Linked DNA regions of Homo sapiens: all the other regions are linked to region 1. The links are contacts of gene promoters, found by promoter capture Hi-C in blood cells and fetal thymus (Javierre and others, 2016). All regions are on one chromosome and are shown on one strand. The core of a region is centred on a gene start or on the middle of the fragment in contact, and the rest is flanking DNA. Distances in the headings are between cores, read along the strand shown. Region 1 holds the start of SOWAHD (sosondowah ankyrin repeat domain family member D). Region 2 holds the start of NKRF (NFKB repressing factor). Region 3 overlaps STEEP1 (STING1 ER exit protein 1). Region 4 has its middle 41 kb from the start of SLC25A5-AS1.

Region 1 (3,266 bases), core at 230-2,729:
CCTGCTCTGCCACTTCCTGCTGGGTGACCTTGAGCAAGTAGCCTAACCTCTCTGCAAACTGGGGACAGTAATGATTCCCAGCACTTGAGGTCACTGGGAGGATTAAAAGAGTTAACATATATAACGCAACAAGCACAGTGCCTGGCACATAGTAAATGTTCAAAACCAAATTACAAATGCATAAACTGTTCTGAAGGAAAGCTCTAGATATTTAGGACTTGTTCCAAATACGTGAGGGCCAAGGAAGAAAAGCTTCCGATACCTTCTATCACTGCTGCCACAGGTGGCCCCGAGGGAGTGGGCTGATTTGGCCTGAGCCTCCATCCCCCTTGGCCTAGACTGCTGGAACAGTCTTCCGACTTCCTGCCTCTGCACCTCCCAAATCACCTTTTTAACACAACCTCCATCATGGCTGTGTCTCTCCCCGGCTCAACAATCTTCTATGGCTCCCCGTTGCTCACTGACTGAGCTCCTTAAGATGCTGGGGGTGTGGAGGCAAGAACCACTATTTACTAAGGGAAGGGAAGAGCAAAGAGTACGCTGGTATTAGGAGTGAAAAAGAAAAAATATCCTTTTTTAAAAAGCCCCTAAGCTTTGAATTTGTAGAAAGCGGGGCCCTGGGGAGAGAGCAGGGATGCATCTCTAAAGAGAACAGGGCGCTCCTGCGGCGCCGGCTCAGATTCACCTGTAGCTGCTTCTCCAAGCCAACCTGGGAAAATTGACGGGAGGGAAGAGGGTGGAGAGCAGGACAGAGAGGGCGGTGCAGAAGGGGAATATCCCTCCTGAGTTCCCTGGAAGAGCGTCAGCCTGGACCCTGGTCTTGGGCTTCTCTGCTGGAATCCTGGGCAGCCCCGGGTGCTGCGGCGAGGGTCAAGGCCACACAAAGGGCAAGGCAGGCAGACGAGCCAGTCACATGGGGCAGTCGAGCTGCCTGCGTGAATGCTAGGCGCGGGACAATGGCAACTCCGGGACAAAGTGCAGGGAGACTCCTGAAGAGATAAGAGGGAAGGGCGAAGGAAGGGGGCGGGGAGCCAGAGCCTCGGAGCTCCAGGACCGCGCTTTGGGAGACCGTGGCTGGAAGCCGAGCTCGGCCCGCTGCGGAAGGGGCGCCCTCGCGCCTCTACACTCTAGCCCCGGCTGGGATGCTGAGAACCGCGGCTTCCAGGGCCGCAGGCGAGCTCCCAGCCAGTCCCCGCGCCCGCCCTTCGGTGCTGGAGGCGGGGCTGCCGAGCTCACCTGGCCGTTTGGGGTGGGACCGCCCGCGACCCGGGGGAGCTGCAGAGGCGGCGGTACCCAGGGAAGTGGAGCTGGGCTTGCCCTGGGGACTTGGCTGGAGCTCACACCCCTCCACGCCCCCCAAGGCCTGCGCGGGGGCCCTCCCCTAGCTCCCTCCCTCCTCCTCCTCCTCCTCCTCCTCCTCTCCTTTGCTCCCTCCCTCCGAACCCAATTGCTCAAGCAGCTTCCTTCCCCAACGCCAGCGCCAGTTCCTCTCCCGTTGGGGCCCGGGAAGGGCAGCTAACGCTGGACACTGGGACGGCCGCGGCGGCAGCTTCAAGACCATGGCCCAGCTCGGAGGGGCCGCGAACCGGGCACCCACGGCCTCTCTCGCGCCGACCTCGCAGAGCCTGCGGTGCGCCCCGCAGCCCCGCCCCTCGAGAGCGGACACTGGTAGCCTGGGCAGGTACTGGGGCAAAGCCGCAGCCGCCGCCTCCCGGGAGCACCCCTTCCCAGGCACGCTGATGCACTCTGCAGCGGGCTCAGGGCGCCGGCGGGGAGCGCTGCGGGAACTGCTGGGGCTGCAGCGGGCGGCTCCTGCGGGGTGGCTGTCGGAGGAGCGCGCCGAGGAGCTGGGCGGGCCGAGTGGGCCGGGCAGCAGCAGGCTGTGCCTGGAACCGCGGGAGCACGCGTGGATTCTGGCAGCCGCCGAGGGCCGCTATGAGGTGCTGCGGGAGCTGCTGGAGGCTGAGCCGGAGCTGCTGCTGCGGGGCGACCCGATCACCGGCTACTCGGTTCTGCACTGGCTGGCCAAGCACGGGCGCCACGAGGAGCTCATTCTGGTACACGATTTCGCCCTACGCCGGGGGCTGAGGCTCGACGTGAGCGCCCCAGGCAGCGGCGGCCTCACGCCCCTCCACCTGGCGGCCCTTCAGGGCCACGACATGGTCATCAAGGTGCTGGTGGGCGCCCTGGGTGCTGACGCTACGCGCCGCGACCACAGCGGCCACCGGGCCTGCCACTACCTGCGGCCCGACGCGCCTTGGAGGTTGCGGGAGCTGTCGGGAGCCGAGGAATGGGAGATGGAGAGCGGCAGCGGGTGCACCAACCTGAACAACAACAGCAGTGGCACCACTGCGTGGAGGGCCGCGAGCGCAGTGGGCGCGACGGCTGTGGAGACAAGCAGGAGAGTGGCAGCGTCGCGGACCAAGGCGAAGGACACCGCGGGCAGCCGGGTGGCGCAAATGCATAGCCTTTTCCGCCATCTGTTCCCCTCATTCCAGGACCGTTGACAGGGACAGAGACTGGAGAGCTAGGAGGGGCTGTGACACTGTGGCGATGGCTAGGTCCTGGGTTGTCCCGGGTTCCACCGAAGGAGAGGCGCCTTGGACGCTGCTTGGGCCTGCAAGGAACAGAACACGTCGGGGTCCGACTCAGGTACTTGTCTCAGGTCTCCTGTAACCACCGGCCTGGAGGACCCGGGGACTCGGGCACCACCTCACCAAGAGAGAGTGAAGGACCAAGCTGGCCTGGCTCCGAGTTCCAAAGCTACAGGACTAAGGAGTTGGGAGCAGGGAGCGTGGTCCTGCTTGGGAGAGGGCAAGTTAAGCTTCCAGGGGCCATTTCTGGGCAGGCCGACGCGCTGGGTTTATTAGGAAACATTCGCTAGAAGAATGAGTTAAGATTGTAAACCACCAATGCAGAGAAAACGCCTAACTCTGCCGGCCTCGCTCGGCCATTAATGGGTCTTGGGGTGCGGGTAGAGTCAGCCTCTGACAACCTCCTCCTGAGACGACCCAGCCTTACTGGTACTTTTTCTCATGTATCACAGGTTACTTCTTATGTATATTAAAGTGGAATATGTGTTCTTTTCACATGACAAGGCTGTCCTTTCAGTGTTTTCCCCCACCTCCCTTACTAACCACAAAGGAAGAAACTGCATATGTTTGCAGGGTAGAGGTCACCCAACCATGGCCGTGATGTTGTGCCCCCCGGGGCAGGCTCTGGGCCTCCTTCTCAGAACAAATGGCCAGAGCTGTGCACAGAAGAAG
Region 2 (2,934 bases), core at 169-2,668, 150 kb before region 1:
CCAAATGTTAATCCTTCTGATCCCATTTAGGGTAAAAAGAGGGCAATCCATTTTTACAGTAGATATATCCATTTCTTTGTTTGAGTCCAGACACATTATGCGCAAATCTACAAGCAAGGCTGACGCTGCTGCGGCTCAGAGAGCTGATACGTACCGCCTCCCCAGGAGAAGACAGTAAGACCCTGCTAGGGGGCTGCAAGTAGAGGGGGGTATTTAAGAGGAATGGAAAAAGAGAGTGGTCAGGAGGAGACTAGAACAGTGGGGTCCCCTCGCCCTTCCCCCACAACTCCAACTGTCGAATATATTCTCTGCGGATACTGCATCCTTGGAAGGCCCTACGCAGGTCCGAGATGCTGCTATTCATCATTCCCCACGTCCTCTAATACCGCCACCAACTACAATGACCACCTCTCAATAATCCTCTTCTAGGCGCTGCTTCATCTCCATCCCTGGTCCTGGAGAGGCCGCTTCCGCGATCTCTGCACCCTCCTAGCTGTTATGTCATGCCCAGCCACCACAGTCGGCCACCCCACCCCCAGGCCAATAGTGATCCCTCTAGTGCCCTCCAGCACCTCCAAATCTCCAGCCTCCAACCTATCCTCCGCATCCCGCCCCCGTCCCTATCCCAACCACCATCATCGATCCCTCCAGCGCCGTCCCTAACCCGATCCCCCATCACCGATCTCTCACCCCCGTCCCTAACCCGACACCCACACCTTCCTCACCTGCAGCCCAGGAAGACGTGGTTGGTCCAGGCGGCGGAGAGCGCGAGGAGCTGGTCGAGGGCAGCCCCGGGATAGCTGTGCAGGTGCCGACAGATGAAGCTGCGCCGCAGAGCCCACTGCCAGTCACTTTCGTGGCTATAGCGCCACTGCTCCAGCACTGGCTCGGGCGGGGGCGGCGGGAGGGGCGGCAGCGGCGGCGGCGGGAGGGGGGGCAGCGGCGGCGCGACAGGAAGTCGCCCCCCAACAGCAGACGTCCTCCAGCCATCTTCTCCGCCCCCAAGCAGGGACCCCAGGGACGAAGCCGACTACGGACCGCGAGCTAGGCAGCTAGCAAGCGGGCGGAAACGGGGGGCCGGTGGGAGGGGCCGGGTAAGGAGGGGCGCGCTGAGGGGAGAAGATCAACTCTCGGGGGGACTGGAGTGTGTGCGTGGGGGCCACCGTTAGGAGGAAAAGAGGAGCACGAGCTCGCGTCCCGACACTGGGATGCACGTCCCCTACACTCCTCTAACTCGTGGAGGAGCAGAAGGGCTTCCGCCGCACTCACGCGCGAGCCGGGGAGGCCGAGTCAGGCTCCGCACCTCCACGGATCCGCAGACCCACGCACTGCGCGGAGAGCGATAAAAGACCCCAGCACGCTCTGCTCCCCTCCTCTAGGTTCTAGCCTACCTACCCGCGTGCCGTCCGGGGTTGTGAGGCCAGTGCGCTTGCGCCGCGGCTGTTCCCTAACTTCCAAATCCCGTCGCAGAATCTCGCGCGACGTACTTTTTTCCCTCCAGTGACGACTACGGGCCTTTGACGCACTACGGTGACAAGCGGAGGGCGGGGACTCCAGAAAGGGAATTTAGGAAGGTTCTCTGAGGTTCGAGAATATGGTTAGAAGGTGCCCTCAGATGAATGTTGGTAGCCCACGGCTCGTCTGACGCTTTTCCCTGGATTTTTAAGCGGCGCGACAGTGAGACCATGTTCCTTGTAAGGGATTTAGGTCTGCACTGGACTTTACATTAAAACAAAACAAAACAGTCAGCTCCCCGAGGTGCCTTTTCTTCAGAGAGTAGCTTGAAATGCTCTGTGCATCGTGCATCATTAGCTTTGTGTAATAGCTTACTGCGGAAACGTAGTAAAAATGAAACACTTGCCAAGAAAATCATCCACAGCGCCGCTTCTCAAGTTAGCCAGTTTCAAGTCCATACTGTATCCCAATTACGAACACAGATACTGTTTACACAGTTCTGATCACGATTGCAAGTCTGTATTTCACGTATCAACTTAAGTGCAAAAGATTACAAGATACAAAAGGGGCCCACAGAAGAGGGTACTGCAAGGTAGAGCCGCTCAATCACTGTAGCCAAATGTATCACTCCACCCGGAGTCAGCTTCACTCAATAACTTCAGTCCCTATCTGCCAACCTGTGTCACGAAAGCAGTTAATCAATGAGTGTCTGTCGGCGGGAATTTACACAGCACCTACTGTGTGCTCAATACAGCAAGAGTACAAAAAAGAAGGAAAGAAAGTGGGTTTTCTCTGTTGTCCTGGAATTGACTACAATCTTGGTGGGGAGAAATAGCCCTGCATAAAACTAAATGTTCCACCAGGAGCCGGACCATTGGATGAGGTGGCTTTAACACACTACCATCTTTAACTCTTTAATGACGTATTTCTAATTATATGACACTTTATGTTAGGGGTGTATTAGACTGAGAGGAGCAGAAGATAACAGCACTTTACACACTTTCATAATTTATTTCCACGTCTGTCTTTCTCCGTGGTGGGCATTCATGTTTATTGGGGTAACAATCGAAATGTTTTTAAAAAGTTCACAAGGTGATACATGCTGTGAAGAAAATAAAACAGGCTGGGTGCGGTGGCTCACGCCTGTAATCCCAGCACTTTGGGAGGCCGAGGCAGGAGGATTACTTGAGGTCAGGAGTTCGAGACCAGCCTGGCCAACATGGTGAAACCCCTGTCTCCACTAAAAATACAAAAATTAGCCGGGCGTGGTGGCAGGCGCCTGTAATCCCAGCTACTCCGGAGGCTGAGGCAGGAGAATCGCTTGAACCCGGGAGGCAGAGGTTGCAGTGAGCCAATATCGCGCCACTACACTCCAGCCTGGGCAACAGAGTGAGACTCTGTTTCAAAAAAAAAAGAAAGAAAGAAAACAGAGCAGTGCAAAGGCAAATGACTGGGGGAACACTAGATGAGGAGTCAGGT
Region 3 (3,195 bases), core at 351-2,850, 210 kb before region 1:
GCACCCGGCCAATTAATTTTTTTTAAGAGACAGGGTCTTACTGTCACCCAGGCTGGAGTGCAGTGGCACAATCATAGCTGACTGTAACCTCAAACTCCTGGGCTAAAGTGATCCTCCCGCCTCAGTCTCCTGAATAGCTAGAACTATAGGTGAATACCATCACACCCAGCCAATTTACTTTTTTTTGTAGAGATAGGGTCTCGCCGTGCTGCCCAGGCTGGTCTCAAACTCCTGGCCTCAAGTGATCCTCCCACTTCTGCCTCCCAAAGTGCTGGGATTACAGGCATGAGCCACCATGCCCAGCTTGGAATATATTTTTTAATTAGCCTAATTCATTGTTTTTAATTGTTCAAAAAAAAATTTGTAAAATAACACATGATATCTCTCCATAAAAAGAAGAAAATTTGAAGGAAATTAATGTGAGTAAAAACCATACAATTTCTAACCTTAGTCATGAGGCAACTGTAGGAAAGAGAGAACACATAACAGGTGTTACAATTACATAGCATCTGTTTATACACAAAAATGGCACCCGATTAATAAAGAATGCATCCATACACATGCTTGAGGGGATGAATACCCCATTTTCCATGATGTGATTACACATTGCATACCTGTATCAAAATATCTCATGTACCCCATAAATATGTGCATCTATATACCCCCCAAATCGTTTTTAACTTTTAAAAAATAAAAATAAAGTATAAGAATATATCCATAAAGAAAAAAGAAATAAAATAAGAAAAAGACAAAAAAAGAAAAAGAAATAAAAAGAATACATCCATAAAGAGCAGTTTCTCATCACTATAATCTTATTTCAAAACATGAGCTAAATCTAGAGCTATATTAAGCAGTCTCTCCTTCAATGGTAATTACCTTCTTAGGAGGCTCTTGTTTCTGAGTATATATGTTCGTTTTCCCAAAGCCCTGGCCAAACTTGACTACTGCTCCATCCACAATGAAGGTAACAGGAGCATTCTTTGGCTGGGATTGGTAGAAGAGCGGCAGTCCACACCTGCAATGACACAGTGAATTTCTGCGAGGTCTCATAATCCAAATTCCCAAAACAGCAATTTGCAAAGTGTGCTTAGACTCTGGGAATATTTCTGTTTGTGGCATAAACTAATGACTGGCTCTTCTCAGTGTCTCCCAAAACTACCTCTACCTGATAAGAATCACTTAGGCCGGGCGTGGTGGCTCACGCCTGTAATCTCAGCACTTTGGGAGGCCGAGGCAGGTGGATCACCTGAGATCAGGAGTTCAAGACCAGCCTGGCCAACATGGCAAAACCCCATCTCTACTCAAAATACAAAAATTAGCCAGGCATGGTGGCAGGTGCCTGTAATCCCAGCTACTCGGGAGGTTGACACAGGAGAACTGCTTGAACCCGGGAGGTGGAGGTTGCAGTGAGTGGAGATCATGCCACTGCACTCCAGCCTGGGCAACAAGAGCAAGACTCTGTCTCAAAAAAAAAAATTCATTTTTCTGGCCAGCTGGTCAAAGATACAACTTTGACTAGCCTCTTTGGGGAACATATTGGTATTTGTGCATAGTTGAAGTCTGAAGGCAGTTGATAAGGATAAAGACATAATGGGGGTCGGACGAGGTGGCTCAGGCCTGTAATCCCAGCAGTTTTGGAGGCTGAGGTGGGCGGATGAACTCAGGTCAGGAGTTCGAGACCAGCCTGACCAACATGTTGAAACCCTGTCTCTACTAAAATACAAAAATTAGCCAGGCATGGTGGCATGTGCCTGTAATCCCAGCTACTAGAGAGGCTGAGGCAGGAGAATCGCTTAAACCCAGGAGGCAGAGGTTAAGGTGACCTGAGATTGCACCACTGCACTCCAGCCTGGGCGACAGAGCAAGACTCTGTCTCAAAAAAAAAAAAAAAGACATAATGGAGAGTTGTATCCAAATAATTATTTTCCTAACACATTATGCCTCTACTTGCCTATGCTTGGAGAAACCCACATTGTTAATACTTACTTTGCACATTTCTTCCTGTACTGTCGTTCAATGCCTTCAGGTCTGCACAGAAAATGGAAGTTAAAAAGATATGAACAAATCTCATTATGTATCAACCTTACTATCCCATTTCTTCAAACGCTAAGAGGCCCTTTCAAAAGTTTTCATTTGGGGGCCGGGCACGGTGGCTCACGCCTGTAATCCCAGCACTCTGGGAGGCTGAGGCGGGCGGATCACCTGAGGTCAGGAGTTCGAGACCAGCCTCAACATGGGGAAACCCCGTCTCTACTAAAAATACAAAATTAGCCGGGCGCAGTGGTGCATGCCTATAATCTCAGCTACTCGGGAGGCTGAGGCAGGAGAATTGCTTGAACCTGGGAGGCGGAGGTTGCGGTGAGCCGAGAGCGAGCCATTGCACTCCAGCCTGGGCAACAAGAGTGAAACTCCGTCTCAAAAAAAAAAAAAAAAAAAAGTTTTCATTTCATAGGTCAACTCATTGGTTCAACATTCCTCCCTTCCTGCAACAAACATTTATGGAGCCCCTGATACAGGTCAGGTATCTCCCTGACAAAGGAAGAGGAAGAGGAGGAGCAGTGTAGTCATAATCATAGGTAGCAATAGTAGTTGTAGTAATAACAACAACAATAATAGCGGCAACCACTTATAAACCCTTTACTATGTGCCAAGAGCTATTCTAAAGTATACATGTATTAACTCGGCTGGGCACGGTGGCTCACGCCTGCAATCCTAGCACTTTGGGAGGCCCAGGTGGGTGGATCATTTGAGGTAAGGAGTTCGAGACTATCCTGGCCAACATGGGGAAACTCCGTCTCTACTAAAAATATAAAAATTAGCTGGGCGTGGTGGCGGATGCCTGTAATCCCAGCTACTCAGGAGGCTGAGGCAGGAGAATCACCTGAACCTGGAAGGCAGAGGCTGCAGTGAGCCGAGTTCACGCCACTGCACTCCAGCCTGGGTGACGGAACGAGACTCCATCTCAAAAAAAAAAAAAAAAAGTATACATGTATTAACTCATTTAATCCTTACAACAACTCTGTGAGGTATGTCATATTATTATTCCCACTTTATGAATGAAGAACCTAGGCCCACAGAGTATTACATGGCTTGCCCAAAGTCGTGGAGCTAGGAAGCAGAGGTTGAATTTAAGCCCAGGCAGTCAAGCTCAAGAGCCCACACAATACCACCTTAGACACCAAGTCATATACACAA
Region 4 (3,049 bases), core at 298-2,797, 250 kb before region 1:
AGTGGTGAATTCTGAGATTTTAGTGCACCCATCACCCAAGTAGTATACATTGTATCCATTTTACAGTTTTTTATCCTTCACCCACTCCCACCCTCCCCTTTCTGAGTCTCTAGTGTCCATCATACCACTCCACATGCCTTTGTGTACTGATAGCTTAGCTCTCACTTCTGAGTGAGAACATACAGTATTTGGTTTTCCATTCCTGAGTTACTTCACTTAGAATAACAGCCTCCAGCTCCATCCAAGTTGCCGAAAAAGACATTATTTCATTCTTTTTCTTTTTCTTTTTTTTTCTTTTTTTGTTTGGAGATGGAGTTTTGCTCTTGTCACCCAGGTTGGAGTGCAATGGCTCGATCTCAGCTCACTGCAACCTCCGCCTCCCGGGTTCAAGTGATTCTCCTGTGTCAGCCTCCCAAGTAGCTGGGATTACAGGTGCTTGCCACCACGCCTGGCTAATTTTTGTATCATTAGTAGAGATGGGGTTTCACCACGTTGGCCAGGCTGGTCTTGTATTCCTGACCTCAGGTGATCCGCACACCTCAGCCTCAGGAGAATCGCTTGAACCCGGGAGGCAGAGGTTGCAGTGAGCCGAGATCATGCCACTGCACTCCAGCCTGGAGGGCAAGAGCAAAACTCTGTCTCAATAATAATAATAATAATAATGGCCATTCTGGCTGGGGTAAGGTGGTATCTCATTATGGTTTTAATTTGTATTTCCCTGATGATTAGTGATGTTGAGCATTTTTTATGTGTGTGTTGGCCGTTTGTATATCTTCTTTTGAGAAATGTCTCTTCGTGTCATTTGCCCCCTTTTTAATGGGATTATTTGTTTATTTGTTTTCTTGCTGATTTGTTTGAGTTCCTTGTAGATTCTGTATATTACTCCTTTGTTGGACGCATAGTTTGCAAATATTTTCTTCCATTCTGTGGGTTCTGTTTACTCTGATGATTTTTTCTTTTGCTGTGCAAGAAGCTTTTCAGTTTAATTAGGTCCCATTTATTTTTGTTTTTGTGGCATTTGCTTTTCGGGTCTTAGTCATAAATTCTTTGCCTGCCTAGGCAAAGAATGTCCAGAAGAGTTTTTCCTAGGTTTTCTTCTAGAATTTTTATGATTTCAGGTCTTAGATTTAAGTCTTTGATCCATCTCAAGTTGATTTTTGCATAAGGTGAGAGATAGGGATACAGTTTCATTCTTCTACATGGGGCTAGCCAGTTTGCCCAGCACCATTTATTGAATAGGGTATCCTTTCCCCAACTTACGTTTTCGTATGCTTTGTCAAATATCAGTTGTTTGTAAGTATTTGGCTTTATTTCTGGGTTCTCTATTCTGTTCCATTGGTCTAATATAACTACTTTTATTTTATTTTATTTTTATTATTTGAGACAGTCTCTCCCTGTTGCCCAGGCTGGAGTGCAGTGGCGTGATCTTGACCTACCGCAATCTCTGCCTCCCAGGCTCAAGTGATTCTCCTGCCTCAGCCTCCTGAGTAGCTAGGATTACAGGCACGCACCACCATGCCTGGCTAATTTTCGTACTTTCAGTAGAGATGAGGTTTCACCATGTTGGCCAGCCTAGTCTCGAACTCCTGACCTCAGGTGATCCACAAGCCTCGGCCTCCCAAAGTGCTGGGATTACAAATGTGAGCCACCGCGCCCAGTTAATGTAACTACTTTTATATCAGTACTATTTTGTTTTGGTAACTATAGCCTTGTAGTATAATTTGAAGTCCGGTAATGTGATACCTCCAGATTTGTTCTTTTTGCTTAGGATTGCTTTGGCTATTCTGGCTCTTTTTTAGTTCCATATGAATTTTAGGATTTTTTCTGATTCTGTGAAAAATGATGTTGGTATTTTGATAGGAATTGCACTGAATCTGTAGATTGCTTTGGGCAGTATGGTCATTTTCACGATATTGATTCTACCCATCCATGAGCATAGAATGTGTTTCCATTTGTTTGTGTCATCTATGATTTCTTTCAGCAGTGTTTTGTAGTTCTCCTTGTAGAGCTCTTCCAGAGAGGTATGTTTTTAATAAAATAACTTATCTTTAAATGGAAGCGAAAACGTGTGGAAAACATCCCAATTGGTGAGGCAGGGTGAAAAGAAATACTGCAATTTCTGAAAGCTTTGGATAAACTCACACCTGATAGTTTACCAAAGGACTCAAAGATGACATTTGGGTCTTCATGTTCCATGATGACCTTGTCTGAGTCAGAGGAATCCATGGCTCAGCCACAGGGTGGCATTTTATGTTCTTGTGTTCTCACATCCTTCAAACATCCTCACTGCTGCATATGCACGCCCACACCTTCTTCCCACATCCCGAAACCACTGCCCGAAGACAGGCCAGGTGATCGGCAAAATGAAGCCCCTCAGCTTCCAGTGAGCAGACAGAAGGCTTCTTCTCAGCCCCTCCTTCCCCTTGCTGCTTCCCAGGGGAGAGGCAGACTGTGGCCCTATGATTTTAGGAGCAGTCCCTGTCCCCAGTTGCAATATGGGTTCAACTCCCGACTATTTATTAGTCTTAGGCCTCTTGCTCTGCCCTATTTTATGATGTTCAGAACAACTCTATGAAAATGATAAGGCTGGCATTTTTCAATCCTGCCTCTACACTGCAGGTAGGGGTGAAGCCTCTTCAATATTGTTTTCCTGCTGAGCATGGTGGCTCACGCCTGTAATCCCAGCACTTTGGAAGGCTGAGGCAGGAGGACTGCTTGAACCCAAGAGGTCGAAGCTGCAGTGAGCTATGATTGTGCCATTGCACTCAGCCTGGGCAACAGTGAGACCCTGCCTGAGAAAGAAAAAAAAAAAGTAGTGTTTTTTTCTTACTACTTCTCTTTTCAGAATGCTTTCAACTGCCTGCTATTTTGAGTCCAAATTCGTGGCATGACCTTCAAAAACAAGTTATCATTAATTCAGCACTTACTATGTGCCAGGCGTTGAATCTCTTGTATCCCCTGAACCTAGTAACAACTGTAGGACAGGCATGCCACTATCTTTCAAATGAGTGAATAAATCCTCAGAACAGCCAGAAAAGCAGGTATTATT

What was found. The method cuts DNA at HindIII sites, captures the fragments that hold promoters and counts their contacts. A CHiCAGO score of 5 or more calls a contact.
Region 2: a contact is called between the fragment with the promoter of NKRF here and the fragment with the promoter of SOWAHD in region 1, in 6 of 17 cell types (naive B cells, total B cells, total CD8 T cells and 3 more). The highest score is 7.0, in naive B cells.
Region 3: a contact is called between a fragment that was not itself captured here and the fragment with the promoter of SOWAHD in region 1, in 2 of 17 cell types (total CD4 T cells and total B cells). The highest score is 5.7, in total CD4 T cells.
Region 4: a contact is called between a fragment that was not itself captured here and the fragment with the promoter of SOWAHD in region 1, in 3 of 17 cell types (naive CD4 T cells, naive B cells and total CD8 T cells). The highest score is 8.3, in naive CD4 T cells.

Annotation. Positions count from the first base shown.
Region 1 is chrX:119,757,109-119,760,374 of GRCh38, forward strand. It overlaps SOWAHD (sosondowah ankyrin repeat domain family member D), which reads left to right and starts at 1,480. Exons shown (of 1, transcript NM_001105576.3): 1 at 1,480-3,094. The coding sequence starts at 1,560. The coding sequence ends at 2,507. RefSeq lists silencers at 1,230-1,379, 1,490-1,789. The HindIII fragment of the contact is 2,232 bases long and covers 591-2,822 here.
Region 2 is chrX:119,605,006-119,607,939 of GRCh38, forward strand. It overlaps NKRF (NFKB repressing factor), which reads right to left and starts at 1,419. Exons shown (of 4, transcript NR_163972.1): 1 at 726-1,419. RefSeq lists a silencer at 953-1,002 and an enhancer at 1,543-1,652. The HindIII fragment of the contact is 11,769 bases long and covers 1-2,934 here.
Region 3 is chrX:119,543,477-119,546,671 of GRCh38, forward strand. STEEP1 (STING1 ER exit protein 1) reads right to left here. Exons shown (of 7, transcript NM_022101.4): 3 at 1,987-2,028; 4 at 877-1,015. Among named protein-coding and RNA genes, the nearest start is that of STEEP1, 20 kb to the right of the region's middle. The HindIII fragment of the contact is 9,697 bases long and covers 1-3,195 here.
Region 4 is chrX:119,508,659-119,511,707 of GRCh38, forward strand. No RefSeq gene overlaps it. Among named protein-coding and RNA genes, the nearest start is that of SLC25A5-AS1, 41 kb to the left of the region's middle. The HindIII fragment of the contact is 1,153 bases long and covers 972-2,124 here.